2 separate regions of the Homo sapiens genome follow, and region 1 is linked to region 2. Evidence: promoter capture Hi-C in human tissues and cell types (Jung and others, 2019). All regions are on one chromosome and are shown on one strand. The core of a region is centred on a gene start or on the middle of the fragment in contact, and the rest is flanking DNA. Distances in the headings are between cores, read along the strand shown.

Evidence for each region. The method cuts DNA at HindIII sites, captures the fragments that hold promoters and counts their contacts. A contact is called where the count stands out against the background at its distance.
Region 1: a fragment that was not itself captured here is called in contact with the fragment with the promoter of MOK in region 2 in 1 of the 25 tissues and cell types used here (spleen).

Annotation. Positions count from the first base shown.
Region 1 is chr14:103,389,972-103,394,645 of GRCh38, reverse strand. All of the region lies in intron 1 of MARK3 (microtubule affinity regulating kinase 3), which reads right to left. Among named protein-coding and RNA genes, the nearest start is that of MARK3, 6.9 kb to the right of the region's middle. The HindIII fragment of the contact is 4,446 bases long and covers 1-3,609 here.
Region 2 is chr14:102,302,972-102,307,488 of GRCh38, reverse strand. It overlaps MOK (MOK protein kinase), which reads left to right and starts at 2,325. Exons shown (of 12, transcript NM_014226.3): 1 at 2,325-2,527. The coding sequence starts at 2,521. RefSeq lists enhancers at 2,106-2,155, 1,922-2,444. The HindIII fragment of the contact is 9,726 bases long and covers 1-4,517 here.

The sequences.
Region 1 (4,674 bases), core at 137-2,636, 1.1 Mb before region 2:
GCCTGTCAACAAGAAATACAGAAAAAACACCTGCTTTGTTTGAGCTTCAACACTGAACTTCAAGGTCCCACATAACCCACAGAAACAATGTCTTATCTAGTGCACACAGAAGTACACAAGACCAACCATAGTTGAGCAGCTTGAGTGGCTAGAGTGTAGTGCTAGCGAACTCTCGGCTGAAGACAAAATTGGATGCCCCTCCCACCTCCAAAAAAAGGCCTTTTCTTTCAAAGCCAACTTCTGCCCTTCCAATTGTTCTGTACAAGCAGGTGCAGACGGGTGAGTACAAATTCCTTATTACTTTTGCAGACCAACTCCAAGCACAACCTTTAACTTCTTGTGTGAGACAGGACATTAAAGCTTCCCAGGTAAGAGATTTATTTTCTCCTTCATGTTTAATTTGAAATTTGAAAATGGATATGAGACAAATGAATTTTCTGCTTTAGTCCTCCCAGTGGTGATCAGAGGGTACTGCATTCCCTGACTCCTTTTTCTTTTTTAACCAAAGCCACAAGTCACGGAATATTCCCTGACTCTTACTAGGAATTTGTTCCAGCCCAGGAAAAAATTCCAGGCATAAAATTTGGCTATATCTTAGAATAATAAAATGCAGGCCGAGCGCAGTGGCTCAAGCCTGTAATCCCAGCACTTTGGGAGGCCAAGGCAGGCGGATAACCCAAGGTGAGGAGTTTGAGACCAGCCTGGCTAACATGGTGAAACCCCATCCCTACTAAAAATACAAAAAATTAGCTGGGCATGGTGGTGTGTGCCTGTAACCCCAGCTACTTAGGCTGGCAGGCGGAGGTTGCAGTGAGCCAAGGTCACGAGATTGCACTCCAGCCTGGCAACAAGAGTGAAACTCTGTCTCAAAAAAAAAAAAAAAGTAATAAAATGCAGAACAATCCTCTTTGCAATCAAATAGTTAATATTAATTTTTATTAGACTGTATAAGCCTCTATGTAATTACAATGTAAATCATGCACCATGTAAGTCTAAATAGTTATACAATGTATATATCATGAGCTACATAACTTAAATGACCAAAATTCTATTTACTGCAAATTTCAACCTTTACCTCATTTACATACATAAGATAAGGATGCTCAAATTGAAGTCTATAAGATCTTTCCCTGAAAACTGACTAAATATTTTCATGAATTCTTCAGAGATCAACTTTTTTTTTTCTTTCTTAAGATACATAGTTTCACCATGTTGTCCAGGTCGACTGGAACTCCTGGCCTCAAGTGATCCTCTGGCCTTAGCCTCCTGAGTAGCTGAAACTATAGGCCAACTTTTTTCTGATAAGGCCCAAACAGCTTGATTCAACAGGTTGTGCTTAGAAGTTGACAAGCTGATTAAGCCGGGGCACAGTGGCTCACGCCTGTAATTCCAGCACTTTGGGAGGCCGAGGAGGGAAGTGGGAGGATCATGAGGTCAGGAGTTCCAGATCAGCCTGCCAACATGGTGAAACCCAGTCTCTACCGAAAATACAAAAAAATCAGCTGGGCATGGTAACAGGCACCTGTAATCCCAGCTACTCGGGAGGCTGAGGCAGAATTGCTTGAAGCCAGGAGGCGGAGGTTGCAGTGAGCCAAGATCATGCCACTGCACTCCAGCCCGGGCAACAAGAGTGAAACTCTGTCTCAAAAAATAAAATAAAATTTAAAAATTAGCTGGGTGTGGTGGCGGCTGCCTGTAATCCTAGCTACCTGGGAGGCTGAGGCAGGAGAATCGCTTGAACCCGGGAGGCGGAGGTTGCAGCGAGCGAGATCGTGCCACTGCACTCCAGCCCAGGTAACAGTGTGAGACTCCGCCTCAGGAAATTTAAAAAAAAAAAAAGCTAATTAAATAAAACCATATTACATATTTTAAATGAGATACTCTACAAAGTATTGCTGGCTGGTATACAGTTAAGTGATCACCAAATGGCAACTATTGTTATTTTCCAGAACCACAATTTTTAATAAACAGTTTTTTTTAAACTCATGGAACCTGAAAACTCAATTAAATGGTCTGGAAATCTTCCTTTGATAGTCACAGTACAATCTAAAAGGAGTATAGTTTAGTTAGCAAGCCTTCACTGCACACTAAGGCAGTGATTTTTTTTTCTTAATAAATAAACATCAGAAATTCCTGCTATAGTGATTCTTAAGAGTGGTCCCCGGACCTGGAGCATCAACATCACCTGGCAACTTGTTAGAAATTCCAATTCTACGGGTAAAATCAAGGTCTAGGGGTAGGGCCCAGTGATCACGGTTCTAAAGCCCTTCAGGTGATTCTAATGTTTGCTTAAGTTTGAGAGTTACAGACTAGTTTCATAAAGCTCAGGCTGCTTTGTCCTGCAAGGAGCAGGAAATCCTAAAGAGCAGGAAAGCTATGTGTCCCAGGTATATGGCCTCTACAGCACCTAGCACAGTATCATACACACGGTAGGCATTCACACTTGCTGAATAGGTTAATTCAGTCTCACATAACCGATGACTGACTAGACAACAGCATCATCAGTTTCACAGAGGTCAGAAATTTGGGGGACTATTTGCATTAACTAATAATAAGTACATGATGCACACATATCAGTAACTGTTAAATAACTGGGAAAGCCCTGGGCCTCTGGTACTTTGGCCAATAACATTACCAGGCTTACGAAGTGTCATATCCTTTGAAATTCAGGTGAAAAATATGTTTCTCATTTTGCCAGTATAGAAAAAGGATGTATCCGTGGCTCCATATAACTATAGAACATAAACTGAAATGCAAACTGTTTGGTTGCCTTTAAAAAGCATATTTTGACCAGGTACAGTGGCTCACGCCTGTAATCCCAGCACTTTGGGAGGCCAAGGCGGGCGGATCACCTGAGGTCAGGAGTTTGAGAACAGCCTGGCCAACATGGCGAAACCCCATCTCTACTAAAAAAAAAAAAAAAAAAAAAAAAAAAATAGCCAGGCATGGTGGCGGGAGCCTGTAATCCCAGCTACTCGGGAGGCTGCGCACGACAATCGCTTGAACCCGGGCGGCAGAGGTTGGCAGTGAGCCGAGATTGCACCACTGCACTCCAACCTGGGCGACAGAGCAAGACTCCATCTCAATTAAAAAAAAAAAAAAAGCATATTTGACATATCAGCCAACTATAATGTATGAATTCAAGCTGGATTCTAATTTGAACAGTTTAAAAATTAGAAATGTGAGAAAATTTAAATACTGCATATTTGATATTAAGAAAATATGATAAAAGTATTGCTTTTTTCTTAAAACAGGCTTTATCTCTTCTAAAAGCTTTAGAGAGGAAATGATACTGCATTTGCTTCTTCATTTATAAATGAAATAAGATTGGCCACTGAGCTGCGCTGTTGAGTACATGGGGGGCTAAGTACATACCAGGGTTTCTCAACGCTGGCACTACTGACATTTTAGGCCGGGTAATTCTTTGCTGTGGAAGGCTGTCCTACGTACTGTAAAATGTTTAGTAGCATTCCTGGTCAGCCAAACCTTTCTCCAGCTGTGATAACCAAAGATGTCTTTAGACATTGTCAAATGTCCACTAGAGGGCAAAATCACCCTGTGGCTGAGAAGCATTGATAAATAACATTCTATTTTTTTAAATTTTCCTATAATAAAATATTTTAAAAAATAGTTTTGACTGAGTGTGGTGGCTCACACCTGTAATTCCAGTGCTTTGGGAGGCTGGGACAGGAGGCCTGCTTGAGCCCAGGAGTTAGAGACCACCTTGGGCAATACAGGGAGATCTCATCTCTACGAAAAAATTAAAAATTAGCCATGCATGTGGTGGGGCACGCCTGTAGTCCCAGCTACTCAGGAGGCTGAGTCGGAAGGATTGCTTGAGCCCAAGAGGTCAAGGTTACAGCAAGCTGTGATTGCTCCACTGCACTCCAGCCTGGGTGACAGAGCGAGATACTGTCTCAAAATCAAAATAAAATCTACAGCAAGCTTGTCCAACCCACAGCCCTAGGGCTGCATGCAGCCCACCACAGCTTTGAAAGTGACCCAACACAAATTCATAAACTTTGTTAAAACACTGTGAGATTTTTTTTGCAGTTTTTTTAAAGCTTATCAGCTATTGTTAGTGTTAGTGTATTTTATCTGTGGCCCAAGACAATTCTTCCAATGTGGCCCGGGGAAGCCAAAAGATTGGACACCCCTGATCTACAAGCTTAAAAAAAAGTTTTAGAAATACTCTATGTACAGGTACAACTACATCTCCTTGTGGAGCCTAAGCTAGAGATCTGGGGCCCAGTAGAGGCTTTGCTACTAAATAGTTAGTGGTCTTCTGTCATTACTAGCAGCCTTTGTCACCTCTCTGAGTCTCAGCAACCTCACTGGATCAGATTGAGTAGTTCTTTTGAGCTATAACACGATGCAGCAACAGTGAACTTTTTTTTTGAGATGGAGTCTCACTCTGTCGCCCAGGCTGGAGTGCAGTGGCGCCATCTTGGCTCACTGCAAGCTCCGCCTCCCGGGATCACGCCATTCTCCTGCCTCAGCCTCCCGAGTAGCTGGGACTACAGGCACCTGCCACCACGCCCGGCTAATTTTTTATATTTTTGGTAGACACAGGGTTTCACCGTGTTAGCCAGGATGGTCTCGATCTCCTGACCTCGTGATCTGCCCGCCTCGGCCTCCCAGAGTGCTGGGATTACAGGTGTGAGCCACCGCGCC
Region 2 (4,517 bases), core at 1,076-3,575:
AACCATTTATTTATTTATTATTTTTTGAGATGGAGTCTTGCTCTGTCGCCCAGACTGGAGTGTAGTGGCAGGATCTCGACTCACTGTAGCCTCCACCTCCTGGGTTCAAGTGATTCTCCCGCCTCAGCCTCCTGAGTAGCTGGGATTACAGGAGCGCATCACCACACCTGGCTAATTTTTGTATTTTTAGTAGTGACAGGGTTTCACCATGTTGGTTGGCCAGCTGGTCTCGAATTCCTGACCTCAGTTGGTCCATCCTCCTCGGCCTCCCAAAGTGCTGGGATTATAGGTGTGAGCCACCACGCCTGGCTTGTTTTGTATTTTATTTATGTATTTGCTTTTTTAGACGGAGTCTCACTCTGTCGCCCAGGCTGGAGTGCAGTGGCGCAATCTCGGCTCACTGCAACCTCCGCCTCCCGGGTTCAAGCAATTCTCTGCCTCAGCCTCCCGAGTAGCTGGGATTACAGGTGCCTGCCACCACACCCGGCTCATTTTTCTATTTTCAGTAGAGATGGGGTTTCACCATCTTGGCCAGGCTAGTCTTGAACTCCTGACCTGGGGATCCACCCGCCTTGGCCTCCCAAAGTGCTGGGATTACAGGCATCAGCCACTGTGCCCAGCCGTTTTGTATTTTTTTAGTAGAGACGGGGTTTCCCCCATGTTGGCCAGGCTGGTCTCGAACTCCTGGACTCAAGTGATCTGCCTGCCTCGGCCGCCCAACGTGCTGGGATTGCAGGTGTGAGCCACCGCGACCGGCCGCTTTCTCTTTCTTTCGAGACAAGGTCTTGCTTTGTCACCCAGGCTAGAGTGCAGTGGTGCTATCATAGCTCACTGAGCCTAGAACTCCTGGTCTCAAGATACCTCCGCCTTATTCTCCTGAATAGCTGGGTTTACAGGCATGTGCCACCGTGCCCGGCTTTTTTTTTTTTTTTTTTTTTTTTTTGAGTCTCTTGCTCTGTCGCCCAGGCTGCAGTGCAGGTGGTGCAATCTCGGCTCACTGCAAGCTCCGCCTCCAGGGTTCACGCCATTCTCCTGCCTCAGCCCCCGGAGTAGCTGGAACTATAGCGCCCGCCACTACGCCCGGCTAATTTTTTTTGTATTTTTAGTAGAGATGGGGTTTCACCGTGTTAGCCAGGATGGTCTCGATTTCCTGACCTCGTGATCTGCCCGCCTTGGCCTCCCAAAGTGCTGGGATTACAGGCGTGAGCCACCACGCCCGGAGTTTTTTTTTTTTTTTTTTTAAGAGGGAAGTGGGGTTTCTCTATGTTGCCCAGGCTGGTCTTGAATTTCTGGCCTCAAGCGATCCTCTTGCCTCGGCCTTCCAAAGTGCTGGGATTACAGGTGTGAGCCACCACACCTGGCCAATTCAGTCTTAAACCAATTTTCTGAGGCTTCGTTTTGGCAAGGCTACTTATCTGTTTTAAAAATAAACGATGTATTTTAGTAAAAGAAAAAAAATGGAGGAAAAAACAGGGTTTTGATCTCATGGAATAATTATGAGGCTAATCTAATGAGCTTCATAAAATACTATACCCATACATAGTATGCTTGTTATTTTATTGTTTTGTCAGGGTCCAGAGAACTAGGCCACTGTGTTGCTTAGGCACCGTGTCTGCACATAGTTCATTCCGGTGTACATTCATTCATCTTTACACTAGAATGTTAGTTTCAAGAACTCAGTCACCTCGTCTACACTGTCCTTTAATCCCCAATACCTGCGACAGTTCCTGGGGCAAAAACAAATGCTTGTTGAATTAAAAAGAAAAACTGGGCCGGGCGTGGTGGCTCACGCCTGTAATCCCAGCACTTCGGGAGGCCGAGGCAGGCGGATCACCTGAGGTCAGGAGTTCGAGACCAGCCTAACATGGTGAAACCCCGTCTCTACTAAAAATACAAAAACATTAGCCGGGTGTAGTGGTGGGTGCCTGTAATCCCAGCTACTTGGGAGGCTGAGGCAGGAGAATCGCTTGAAGCCGGGAGGCGGAGGTTGCAGTGAGCCGAGATCACGCCATTGCACCCCAACCTGGGTAACAGAGCGACACTCTGTCTCAAAAAAAAAAAAAAATTCCTGTAGAAGCTCCCAAGCCCAATTAAAGCTCAAGGCTATCGTCCACGTAGTGGGTTCCAAATCGCTAAGTTCCCAGGCCAGCAGGGAGAGCGAGCCGAGCGAAGGTCGCCTGTGTCAAAGGCGGGGATTTGCACAGTATTTACATGGAAGCGGAGGAAAGGCTGCTTAGCAACCGGGCTGAGGGGACGGGCTGCACTGCGCACGCGTACATGGGCGGGGCATCTTGCGCATGCGCAGGCGACAGCTCATGGCGTTCAGGGCCTGACGGTTGCTAGGGTGACAGGGACACAACATGGCGGCGGGATCTCTAACGCTCTCCTTCGAGGGACCACCACGGAGATCCTAGTGCGGGACCCCGCCTCAGGGAAGTGGAAAGCAGGGGGACAACCTTCCTGCTTCTTTCTTTTCCGTCCAGTGTCGGCAAGGGGTTGTCACCGGCTTCCGCATCCAAGATGAAGAGTGAGTGGGGCCGGGGAAAGGGGCAGGGACTGGAGAGCGAGTGGCGGGGGAGGGAGGGACTGGGGGAGCTTGAGGAGCTTGAGGGGCCTGTGGGGCCGGGCGTCGTCGCCTTCTGCCGTGGCTCGACAGGCCCGGGAGGCTCCGCATGTGGGCCCCGAATCCCCCTCGGCTGTGAGAAGCCGGTGCCCCTGGGGGAAGCTTGAGGGGTTGGGGCTAGGTTGGGAACTTTGGGGTCTCGGAGAGCCGACTCGAGTTCCCGCTCAGGCATATTTTGGTGCAGGTGCGTGGTTCTTACATTGGAGTTTAGGGAGTTGACTGTGATTCATTTTATTTTATTTTAAATGCTGGCTTGAACCTGACACTCTTTTCCTGAACATTCGGCAGAAAACGGGGGAGCGCTTACAGCGTGGCTCCCTGCCTTTTCATGATACTGGTTTAGTGACCAATTGAGAGGAAAGCTGGGCTGTGTGCTTTATTTTATTTTTTGGGTCAAGCAGTAGTGTTTTATAGGAACCACTTTTTAATAGTAGTTTTGAAGCAACCTTTTAGTTAAAAGCTGTTACTTCAAAGTTGGGAAATGAGGTAGTCATTCTAGAAAATGTAACGGGTAAAAAATTTTCTTTAGTGGGATTTGTGGATTATTGACAATCCAAGTGCAACCAGCTAGAATGATGTTTTTAAAATTATTATTACTGTACAGATATAATTGTTTATGGTTGTGAACCAGAGGTGCAGTAAAAATTCAGACCTTTGCTGTGAAAATATTATGTTAGGAGTAGTTATAATGTTAAATTTGCATTGTATCCTAATTGTCAATGGTGTACATTGCATAACATTTAAAATAATTAATCTCATTCACCCTTTACAAGGCATTTTTATTTTTATTTTATTTTGTTGGATATTGTTTAATGTTTACCTTTTTCATTAATGCACTACAAAGCTGTAGTTAGAATCCAAGGTCTACAAAAGACTTTACACTTTTACTTACAGTGCAGACTATGATACTGCACATATTTTGTACTATATTCATTTTTTTCTTCCCATCTGTTTGTTTTGAAAATTTTCAGATGTACAGGAAAGTTGCAAGAGCAGTACATTGAATATTTATAAACCCGTCCTTCACTTAGCTGCACCATTTTGCCTTATTTTTGTGTGCTCGCTTTCGCTCTGGTGTTTTCTCTCTCCCATTTATGTATTTATTTTCACTGGACCTTTCAAGAGTTAGTTGTAGACTACTAATAATTCACCACTTCTTTCAGCAGTTATCTGCCAAGAACAAGGACATTCTCCTACATCATCACAGTACAAATAACACATTTAGAAAATTTAACAATGATACAATACTCTGATACACAGTCCATATTTCAGTTTTTCCATTTATCCCAATAACATGTGTTATAGTTGTTTATATTTTTTCTATCCAATCAAGAATCACCAATTGTATTCTGTTGTCATATCTCTTTGGTCTCTTTTAATATGGTGTCCCTGCCTTTTGTGTCTTTCATGACAATGATATTTTCATTTTTATTTGGCTGTCCTCTGTAGGCCAAATGACATTTTTAAAGAATCCAGCCCAGTGTTTTGCAGAATATCGCTCAATTTGGATTTGTCTGATTTTCGCCTCATGATTAGCTTCAGCTTAAATGTTTTTACCAGGAATATGTGAGAGGCAACGTTGTGTCTCTGTCAGTGTGGCCCTTCCAGAGTGCCTGATGTCAGTTCGTTGCAGTTTTGCTGAAGTTAGATTTGATCATTTGGTTTATTTATCTACCTTCTTTTTCTCTTAGACTCTTTTTTTTTTTGGACAGGGTCTCTCTGTGTCACCCTGGCTGGAGTGCAGTGGTGCAATCTTGGCTCACTGCAACCTCTGCCTCCCGGGTTCAAGTGATTCTCCTACCTCAGCCTCCCAAGTAGCTGAGATTACAGGTGTGCACCACCACGCCCAGCTAACTTGTATTTTTTGGTAGAGACGGGGTTTCAACATGTTGGC